2 separate regions of the Homo sapiens genome follow, and region 1 is linked to region 2. The links are contacts of gene promoters, found by promoter capture Hi-C in blood cells and fetal thymus (Javierre and others, 2016). All regions are on one chromosome and are shown on one strand. Each heading gives the region's core, a stretch centred on a gene start or on the middle of the fragment in contact. The rest is flanking DNA. Distances are from core to core; before and after follow the strand shown. Region 1 has its middle 48 kb from the start of ZNF780A. Region 2 holds the start of BLVRB (biliverdin reductase B).

What was found. Contacts are between HindIII fragments. The CHiCAGO score rates a contact against its expected background, and 5 or more counts as called.
Region 1: a fragment that was not itself captured here is called in contact with the fragment with the promoter of BLVRB in region 2 in 2 of 17 cell types (total B cells and naive B cells); the score reaches 6.1 in total B cells.

The regions. Positions count from the first base shown.
Region 1 is chr19:40,136,659-40,142,188 of GRCh38, reverse strand. No RefSeq gene overlaps it. Among named protein-coding and RNA genes, the nearest start is that of ZNF780A, 48 kb to the right of the region's middle. The HindIII fragment of the contact is 1,694 bases long and covers 1,387-3,080 here.
Region 2 is chr19:40,463,844-40,469,095 of GRCh38, reverse strand. It overlaps BLVRB (biliverdin reductase B), which reads left to right and starts at 3,351. Exons shown (of 5, transcript NM_000713.3): 1 at 3,351-3,486. The coding sequence starts at 3,408. It overlaps SPTBN4 (spectrin beta, non-erythrocytic 4), which reads right to left and starts at 2,095. Exons shown (of 36, transcript NM_020971.3): 1 at 1,791-2,095. RefSeq lists a silencer at 2,937-3,136 and an enhancer at 4,158-4,277. The HindIII fragment of the contact is 19,600 bases long and covers 1-3,830 here.

The sequences.
Region 1 (5,530 bases), core at 984-3,483, 330 kb after region 2:
CATGGCTATTGCAATAGTTTCCAGTTTTTTGCTATCATGCGTAGGGCTCCAGTGAAGAGGCACGTTCATATGAAGTTTCCTATTTCTGTCTGTGTCTTTGGACCTAATTCCTAGAAGTAGGATTGCTGAGTCAAAGGGCAAATTCACTAGATATTGCCAAATTCTCCTCCATGGAGGTTTTATCTTTTTATATTCCATCAGTAAAATGGAAGAGTCCCTGTTTCCCCACAGCGTTGCCAACAAGAGGGCTGTCCAACATTTGGATTTTTGCTAATCTGTTAGGTGAGAAATAGGATCTCAGGGCAGTTTTAATTGTGTTTCTTTTATTATGAGTGAGGCTGAGCTTTAGTTTATTTTTTATTTTTTGAGACAGGCTCTTGCTTTGCCAGTCAGGCTGGAGTGGAGTGGCACAATCTCGGCTGGCTCATTGCCACCTTCGTCTCCCAGGCTCAAGCGATTCTCCTGCCTCAGCCTCCTGAGTAGCTGGGATTACAGGTGCATGCCACCATGCCTGGCTGCACCATGTTGCCTGGCTGCAACATGGCATGCACCATGCCATGTTGGCCAGGCTGGTCTTGAACTCCTGACCTCAGGTGATCTGCTTGCCTCAGCCTCTCAAAATTCTGGGATTACAGGTGTGATATTTTATTTTTTATTTTTTGAGACAGGGTCTTACTCGGTCACACAGGCTGGAGTGCAGTGGTGCAATCATAGCTCACTGCAGCCTTGAACTCCTGGGCTCCAGCAGTCCTCCCATCCTCCCACCTCAGCATCCCGAGTAGCTGGGATCACAGGTGTGTGCCACCACACTCAGCTAATTTATTTTATTTTATTTAGAGACAAGGTCTTGTCATCTTGCTCAGGCTGGTCTTAAACTCCTGGGATCAATCAATCCCCTCACCTTCCCTTCGAAAGTACTGGGATTACAGGGATGAGCCACTGTGTCTGGCTATTTTTATAAATTTAGGTGGCATTTGCATTTTTTAACGTGAACTCTCTGTTTATGTATCTTGCCCGCTTTCAATAGGTTTCTTGTTTTTTTTCCCTTAATTTTTAGACACTTTATATTTTAGGGATTTTAACTCTTTCTCTTCTGTGATATAAGTGGTAAATATTTTTCTTATTTTGTCATCTGTAGTTTTTGGTTGTGTATGGCTTATTTTGTGGCCACGCAAAAGGTTTTTGTTTTTTTTTTGTTTGGTCATTTAACAAAATTCTCTTTTATGGCTTCTGGATCTTGAGTAATAGTTTGGAAAATTTACACCCTCCCCGGTAATGAGGGAACTCACCAGTGTTTTATTATCTGTGAGGCTGTGTTTTTTCATTTAGATCTTTGATATGTTTAGGATTTAATCTGGTATATGGGGTGGGAAATGCATTCAAGCTTCTTTGTTTTCACGTGGTCATCTAGTTGTTTCTACACTACTAAATTAAAACCTTTTCTAAAGTCCCTTCCTGAATTAGAAATTACTATATCATCATATAAATCTCCATCAGCAATTGCTTCTGTCTTTGGATTTTCTAACCTTCTTTTGATCTGTCTGCTTATTTATGCATCAGTAACACATTTTAAAATATTGTTTTTATTTACTTTTTTTTTTTTAGCCCCAACCATGGCAAGGGCACATATTGTTTTATTTTTATTGTATTATTTTTATTATTTTTAATTTTTCTGATACGGAGTTTTGTTCTTGTCACCCAGGCTGGAGTGCAATGGTGCAAACTCAGCTCACTGCAACCTCTGCCTCCCGGGTTCAAGGGATTCTCCTGCCTCAGCCTCTCGAGTAGCAGGGATTACAGGTGCCCACCACCATGCCCAGTTAATTTTTGTATTTTTAGTAGAGATGGGGTTTCATCATGTTGTCCAGGATGGTCTCAAACTCCTGACCTCAGGTGATCCACCCGCCTCAGCCTCCCAAAGTGCTGGGATTATAGGCATGAGCTACCACGCCTGGCCACTTATATCGTTTTAAGTATTTGGTAGAGCTACTGCCTAAGTTGGTGGCAGCCACGGCTGCTACTGCTTCTTTCTAGCTCTGGGGCAAAAAAAGAAAACACACACACACACACACACACAAACACACACACAAAACCCTTGATGATATCTGTATTGGGATTGCAATAAATTTGTAAACAAACTCAGAGGCAATTGAGTTCATGATGCTGGCAGCCTGCTTCTATCCTTGGAATTCTGGTGCCATCTAGTCGTCATTATGTGCAACAACAACTTTCTGAATTTCAAAAAGAAAATCTGGGAGGTAAAAGCAGTAAACATTTATTGTCTCACACACTTTTTGTGGGTCAAGTATTTGAGAGCAGCTTATCCACATGGTTCTGGTTCGAAGGCACTGGCCTGGGGTTCAGTCATCAGAAGGGTTTAAAGGAACTGGAGAATGCCCTTCCAAGGGGGCTCACTCACACTCCTCTGGGTCCACTTGCTCTAGGGGAAGCTAGGCCACATGATGGGGACTGTGGGGAGGGCCAGATGGTGAGCAAGTTAACGCAGAGAGTGAGGTGGAAGCTGTAATGCTAGATAATTTTAGACTTGCAGAAAAGTGCAGATAGTACAGAGAGGTCCCACATATCTCTCATCCTGCTCCCCCTATTGTTATTAGCATAGCACAATGATCAAAACTAGGAAATTAACATTGGTATCACAGTATCAACTAAACTACCAATCTTATTTGAATGTTAACACTTTTTCTATTGATGTCCTTTTTTTTTCCTTTTTTCTGTTCCAGACTCCCATATTGTGTTCAGTTGTTGTGTCTCTTCTAGACAGGAACATTTCCTCTGTATTTGCTTGTGTTTCATGACTTTGACACTTTGCTTTTTTAAGAGGTAGGGTCTCTTTCTGTCGCCCAGGCTGGAGTGCAGTGGTGCGATCATAGCTCACTGCAACCTTCAACTCCTGGACTCAGAGGATCCTCCTGCCTCAGCCTCTTGAGTAGCTAGGACTACAGCCACATGCCATGGTGCCCGGCTAATTTTTTTTGTCAGGATGGGGTCTCACTGTGTTGCACATGCTGATCTTGAATTATTGGCCTCAAGCAATCCTCCTGCCTCAACCTCTCAAAGCTTTGGGATTATAGGTGTGAGCCACCATGCCCAACTGACTTTGACACTTTTGAATGGTACTGATCAGTTAGTTTATAGGATATTCCTCAATTTGGGCTTGTCTGACATTTTCTCATGACTGGACTAAAGTTATGAGTTTTTGCCAAGAACGCCACAGAAATGATGTTGTGTCCTTCTCAGTGCATGATATCAGGAGGCACCTGATGTCAGTGTATCTTATTGCTGGTGATGCTGACCTTGATCACTTAAATTGCTGTATGCTGCACATCTCCACTGTAAAGTTACTATTTTCCCCTTGGTAATTAAAAACTATCTTGAAGGAGATTTTTTGAGACTATACAAGTCTTTTTCCTTCTCAAACTTTTGCCCACAAATTTTAGCATCCATTGGTGGATCTTGTCTGCAACAGTTATTGCTGTGACATTTGACTAATGGTAATTTTTCATATTCCTTTCTCCTTTTACATTTATAAATTGTAAATCTACTGAAAGATAGAACCATCCCTTCTCCTCATGTATTTATTTTTTTATTTCGATCCATGCAGAAGTGTGATTTATTTATTTATTTATTATTTTTCAGGTGGAGTCTTACTCTGTCACCCAGGCTGGAGTGTAGTGTTGTGATCTCTGCTCACTGCAACCTCTGCCTCCTGGGTTCAAGTGATTCTCATGCCTCAGCCTCCTGAGTAGCTGGGATTACAGGTGTGTGCCACCACACCTGGCTAATTTTTTTTTTTTTTTTTTTTTTTTAGTACAGACAGGGTTTCACCATGTTGGCCAGGCAGGTCTCAAACTCCTGATCTCAAGTGATCCACCCGCTTTGGCCTCCCAAAGTGCTGGGATTACAGGTGTGAGTCACTGCACCCGGCCGAGAAGTGTGGATATTTATTTTATTCTATGGATTAAAACCTGATATTGAGAGACTTACATTTCGACAGTCTGCTGGGTATGAAATGGTATGCCGTTGTGGGTTTTCCCCTTCTCTTTGTGGAGAACAGAGTCTTGCTATGTTGCCCAGGTGGGTCTTGAACTCCTGGGCTCAAGCGATCCTCCCACCTCGGCCTCCCTAAGTGTTGGGATTACTGGTGTGAGCCACCGTACCTGGCCTCATTGTGTGTTAATTAGAATATTCTGAATACTGATGAGTTTGGGCATCTTTGGCCTTTCCTACTGTGGCCTCTATGAAGTGCTTTTAAAAAATCCTGCTCTTGCCTCTCCAGGTCAGGATGTTAGGCTCACTGGACAGAGAAGAGTCTATTTTTTTGGGAAGTTGGCATGAAATACTTTAAGAACCTGTTAATAAGGTAAATGCAACTTCTAGGCTTTGCATAACCGTCTATATGCTGTTGAGGGCTGTTGTTGTTTGAGTTCTCTGGAAGCAGACACTAAGATGCAGTTTGGGGTGCAAGAGACTTATTAGGGGTTGACGCCTGTGGAAGGGAGAGGGGAGCCAGGGTTGAGCAGATGGAGAATTTGAATTAGACGTGGCACAACCTTGGCCATGGTCAACCCTGCAAGAGCTCTGCAGCATAGATAGCTGCTGTGGTCTCAATGTGTCCCCCACAATTCGTGTGTTGGAACCTTAATCTCCAATCCAACAGTGTTGGGAGGTGAGACTTTTGGGGTGTGTTTAGGTCATGAAGGCTCCACCTTCGTGAATGGATTAATGGTATTATAAAAGGGCTTGATGAAGGGAGTTTATCCTTTTTTGCCCTCCGCCTTCTACCAGTGTTACTCCCCTCTGGAGGACACAGTGTTCAAGGCACCATCTTGGAAGCACAGATAAGACCCTCATTAGACACTGAGTCTGCTAGCGCCTTGATCTTGGACTTCTCAGCCTCCAGAACCATGAGAAAATAAATGTCTGTTCTTTGTAAATTACCCAGTCTCAGGTATTCTGTTTTAGCCGTACAAATTTATGAAGAGAATAGCTTATTAGACTTGTTATCTGTTTGGCTCAGATTGCTGGGCCTTATATTCCTTACTGGGGCTTTCCCCGGAGAGGTGTGCATTTGGTCAAGGCAGCTCTCTGCAATTGAGGCTGGTCCTGAAGGACTTGACAGCAGAAAGTTGTCTGCTGACAGCACTCCCAGTGGCTGAAGCAGCAAATCCTGCTTGGAAGAGGGATCTGGACAGGGTATCTCTGTATCCACCGTTAGTCTCAAACTTATATTGGCACTGCAAACCTCTCCTCTGAATTCTGCACTTGAATGTTTAATGGGCTCTCAAATTACTTGTATCCAAAGCTGAGATCCTGATCTTCCGTCCCAAACCTGCTTATCCCGCAGGCTTCCCCGTCTCAGTTAACAGCACCTGCATCTTTCCCTTTGCTTAGGCTGAAATCTTTGGAGTCATCTTTGACAGACTCCTCTCTTTCTTCCGTATGTCATGTCTGATATGTCGGCAAATCCCATTGGCTTTATCTGTGAAGTATTCCACATGCTAACACCTGG
Region 2 (5,252 bases), core at 2,102-4,601:
ACAAGGTATTGCTCTATCACCCAGGCTAGAGTGCAGTGACACAATCATAGCTCCCTGTAGCCTCCAACTCTTGTGCTCACGCGATCCTCCCACCTCAGCCTCCTGAGTAGATGGGACTAGAGGCAAGCTCCACCATGACCAGGTAATTTTTGTATTTTTTGTAGAGAGGGGGTCTCACTATGTTGCTCAGGCTGGTCTCAAACATCTGGGCTCAAGCTATTTGCCCACTTCAACTTCCCAAAGTGCTGGGGTTACACATGTGAGCCACTGTGCCCAGTCCCAAATCCATTTTTGTTCTTCCCTCCTTCCATGGAAAAGTGAAAGTGAGCACACAGCTACCTACCACCTGTGTGACCTTGGCTGAAATACTTCCACTCTTTGGGCCTTAGTTTGTTCATCTGCAAAATAGTAATGATGGCCCGGCACGGTGGCTCATGCTTATAATCTCAGCACTTTGGGAGGTCAAGGTAGGTGGATCACTTGAGGCCAGGAATTCGAGACCGGCCTGGCCAACATGGCAAAACCCGGTCTTTACTAAAAAAAATACAAAAATTAGCCAGGCGTGGTGGCACGTGTCTGTAGTCCCAGTTACTTGGGAGGCTGAGGCAGGAGAATCGCTTGAACCTGGGGGATGGAGGTTGCAGTGAGCTGAGATTGACTCACTGCACTCCAGCCTGAATGACAGAATGAAACTCTGTCACACACACACAAAAGGGTAGGCCAGGCGGTGGCTCACGCCTATAATCCCAGCACTTTGAGAGGCCAAGGAGGTGGGTGGGTCACCTGAGGTCAAGAGTTGGAGACCAGCCTTACCAACATAGTGAAACCCCATGTCTACTAAAAATTCAAAATTAGCCAGGCATGGTAGCTCATGCCCGTAATCCCAGCTACTTGGGAGGCTGAGGCAGGAGAACTGCTTGAAGTCGGGAGGCAGAGGTTGCAGTGAGCCAAGATCGCGCCATTACACTCCAACTTGGGTGACAAGAGTGAAACTCCGTCTCAAAAAAAAAAAAAAGTAATGATAATCGTACCCGTTTCTTAGCGGTGTTTGAAGAGGTAAGTTATTAATGCAGGGATCATGGTATCTGGTACACTGCAAGCCCTTGATACATGTTCCTTGCTATTATTCTTCATCTTTTCCTCACACATCTCAGCAAATCGATTTGCCTCTTCTGGAGTCAGACAGAAATGAGTTCAAGTTCCGCTTTATTCTTGCTGTATCTTTAACCGAGTATCTTTAACTTGGCCTTTCTGTGCCTCAGTTTCCCTCCCTGTTAAACGGTGGTTACAGCTGTTTTCTTCAGTGGAAGACACTTAGAGATGGGGAGGCCCTTAGCACTCCTGTTAGCCCTCTGGCCAGGCCGAGGATCAGCTCTGGCCATAACGCGATTGAATGGGAAGGAAGGGAGCAGGTAATAGGGAAGCCGGGAAGGGGTGTCCTGCGAGCCTCCCCCCAACACCCCCCCCCCCCCGCAAAGGCTGGTGGGGCGCTGGGCTGCGGTGGCATCAGAGGCTTTAACCCTTCCCAGGCCGCGCCTCTCTCCCTGCGGTCCAGACACTGCGCCCAAGGAGGGGGCCTGGGAAGGACAAGGCCTGGGGGTAAGACCCACGCGTGGCGCGGAAGCTAGACCGGGTGGGGGGGTTGTGGGCTCGTCCTGCCCTCGACCCTTTGCCTCCCTCCAGCCGGGGAGACCCGGGGCTCCAGCCATGCCCCGTGCGCGCGGAGGAGGGATGCTCGCCAGGTGGGGACATACTTGGGGGAGGGGCTGTCGGCCCCCCTAGCAGCTCACCTGGGCCCGCGGCCGCCAGCGTCGCTGTCTCCGCTGCTCGCCGCGACCGACCGCCCTCCCTGTCGGCGTCCGCTGCCCGGCCCGGCCCGGCCCGGCCCAGCCCGGCTCAGCTCGGCCCCGCCGGCCCGCGGCTCAGCCAGATCCGCATGCGCCGCCGCGCCTCCCTCTCTCGCGCCGCCGCCGCGCTCAGCGCGCCCCCGGGACCCCCTCCCGCCCGCGGTCCCCGCGCCCCGCCGCCCGAGGCCCACGCGCAGTCACACCCGGCCGCGGCGTGGGGTGCACGGCTGCACTCGCGAGGGCACGGCGGCGTCACGCGCTGCACACTCCCACGGGGTCACGCTCGCCACGCTGCCATACTCGCGGGGGCCTCGGCGCACAAACTCACCCCCGCATCCACGCGCTTGCGCGCCGTCACTCCCTCCTGTGGGGTCTCACGGGGTCACACCCTCACGCCGTCACACGCGGCGTCCACACTGGAACGGTGTCACCCACCACCACACAAATCCAATAGGGTAACCACCGCCCACGCGGCGTCACACACAAATGCACCTGTCACACACAGCCGCACACTCCCCGGCAGTCACAAACAGTGTCATAGGCCCACACATCACGCACAGCTTCACAGCCACAGTGTCACACACTCTACACACTCGAACCTTCATAGCAGTCGCCCCGCACATGCTGCACCGCCGCACCTCACACATCATAGTCACAGGGGGTCACAATGAGCAGCTCAACACAGACACCCACAGCCACACACTCGAATGGGGTCCCGGTGTCACACATCCTTACACGAGACATGTGGTGTCACACACTGTCACAGTCTAATTAGTCTCACGCTTCCATGTAGCACACCTCACACGTCCCACACCCTATCGTACAGGCTGACGCAGTGTCACCCACGGTGTCACCACAAGGTCACAAAAGAACAGAATCAATGCCTGCCACACGTGGTGTCACGCACGTGTAGTCACACTGTAACACGGGATCACACTCAGAGGATGACACAAGGTGTCACCCACAGTCCTGCTTGCCCTCCGGGTCACTGAGTCACACAGGGTCATATAAGTGCATAGGTACGCCGTGACACAGTGTCTTACATCCAAGTGCACACACACACTCTGTCCTCCTAACTTTCTCCCCTTGCTGGTTCTGGGAGGCCCTGGGGCTTAGAGTGCGCCCCAGATCCGCTCCAGGCTCCGGGAGAGGGGGCGTGAGCTACGAGAGGCCGTGGGTGAGGCTCGCCTGGCCCCGCCCCTCTCCGGGAGGTGGAGCGCGGAGGCAGGGCGCTGAGTGACAAGTTATCTCGGCTCCGTCCACTCTATTTGTTGCTATGTGGAGGCGTGGCCTTCTGTGGCCCCGCCTTCCAGTCTAAGTGGCGCGCAGAGAGGGCGGTGCTGGACGGTGAGCGAATGCAAGCTGACGCCTGCCCCGCCCATCCGCGTTAGGCCCCGCCCCTTGACCTGAGCCGCGGGCGGAGAGTCTGAGGCGTGGCCCTTCGAGCCAGCTCCGCCCCGTTGTTCCTGGCTTGAGTAGGGCAGAGAGCACCGCCCAGCAGCCAGTGGGTTCCCGCGCGTGCCGAGACTCTGAGGCCTTGCACCCCCACGATCCCGTACGATGGCCGTCAAGAAGATCGCGATCTTCGGCGCCACTGGCCAGACCGGGCTCACCACCCTGGCGCAGGCGGTGCAAGCAGGCATGAGCCGGGGCGGGCGGGGCATGTCACGGGACAGACGGGCAGAACTTTAGGAAGGGGCACCATGGGGTCGGGCCGAGGCTGATTGGGGCCATGAGCGCCCCAGCCAGGTGTATGAGGACTCAGGGGCCAAAGCAAGTGGCCACGGGGGCAGAAATGGGGAAAGATGTGAGATCCAAGTTTATGTGAGTCCAAGCCAGAGAGGAATTGGCCCCGGGAGCCCCGGGAGGACTCCACTGGCACAGTCGTGTGTAAGTCCAGGGCTCTTATGCAATGCGGTTGTCATTATTGTGGTTGTGGTGGTGGTTGTTCGCACTCCCAGAGAGGATTTACTAAGCCAAGCTTGCTCTGTCGTCTCTTCACATGAGAGCTTTCAAAATGGGGTGGGAACTAGTATCACCCTACTTGACAGATGAGAAAACTGAGACCCAGAGAGTGACTTGCCCAATATCACACAGCTGTTAACTGACAGGACTGGGATTTGAACTCAGCTCATGCTCTTAACCACCACAAGTCCCCAGGCTGGAAACTGAAAAAGTTGGGGGGTCAGGTTGCTGCGAGTACCTAATGGGAAGGAGTCACAGAGAGACATGAGTGAAGACTTGGGGACAGCAGTCCTGGGAAAGTCAATGAGGGCTGAAAATTTGGAGTTGCCCCAGGAGAGAGGGCAGAAAAGGGGATAACCATCCCCCAGCACTCCCTGCCCCCACAGCCCAGACTTGACCAACTCCCAGCTGGGCCTGGGACTTCCAGATATGGGGCCCCACCCTTGCAGGCCTTGGGGACGCTGAAGATATTGACTATCTGCGTGCCCCAAAAGGGTGGAGGCCAACAGGACCCCACTCTGCTGTCTCCCTTGGAGGGACTCTGAAAGTTCTTCTCTAGGTCCATAACTCTCCCCTTCCCCAGGGAGACCACGTGAGGATCTTGACTTGTGGAGAATGGGGAGCTGTGGGCCTCTCAGTAAAAACCAGTTTGCTGATAAGCATTTATTCGGGAGTAATGGAGAAGGAAGTAAGAGAGAGAAGTTGAGAGGCGCTGAGTCACCTGGAAATCCACTAATTCCACCGAATTCCACTCGCCCACCCTGCTGGTCATAGCTGGGACTGCACTCAGAGGGTTAAGAACTGGAGCCTAGGGAGCTTCAGAGCTGTGGCTCTGAAAAATCTCTTCCCAGCTCTCAGCTTTGCTGTCCCCCTCAGCAAAGGGAAGGGCTGGCCAGGCACGGTGGATCATGCCTATAATCCCAGCACTTTGGGAGGCCAAGGCGGGAGGATGGCTTGAGGCCAGGAGTTTGAGACTAGCCTGGGCAACGTAGCAAGACCCCATCTCTACAAAAATACAAAAAAAAAATAAATTAGCTGGGCGTGGTGATGCATGCCTGTAGTCCCAGCTACTCAGAAGGCTCAGGTGGGAGGATTGCTTGAGCTCAGGAGTTCAAGGCTACAGTGAGCTGTGTTTGCACCACTGCACTCCAGCCTGGGTGACAGGGTGAGACCCTGTCTCTCAAATTTAAAAAAATACATAAAAAGAAAGAAAAAGAGGCTGGGTGCGGTGGCTCACGCCTGTAATCTCAGCACTTTGGGAGGCTGAGGCAGGTGGATCACGAGGTCAGGAGTTCGAGACCAGCCTGGCCAATATAGTGAAACCCCGTCTCTACTAAAAATACGAAAAATTAGCCGGGCATGGTGGCTGGTGCCTGTAATCGCAGTTACTTGGCAGACTGAGGCAGGAGAATAGCTTGAATCCGGGAGGCAGAGGTTGTG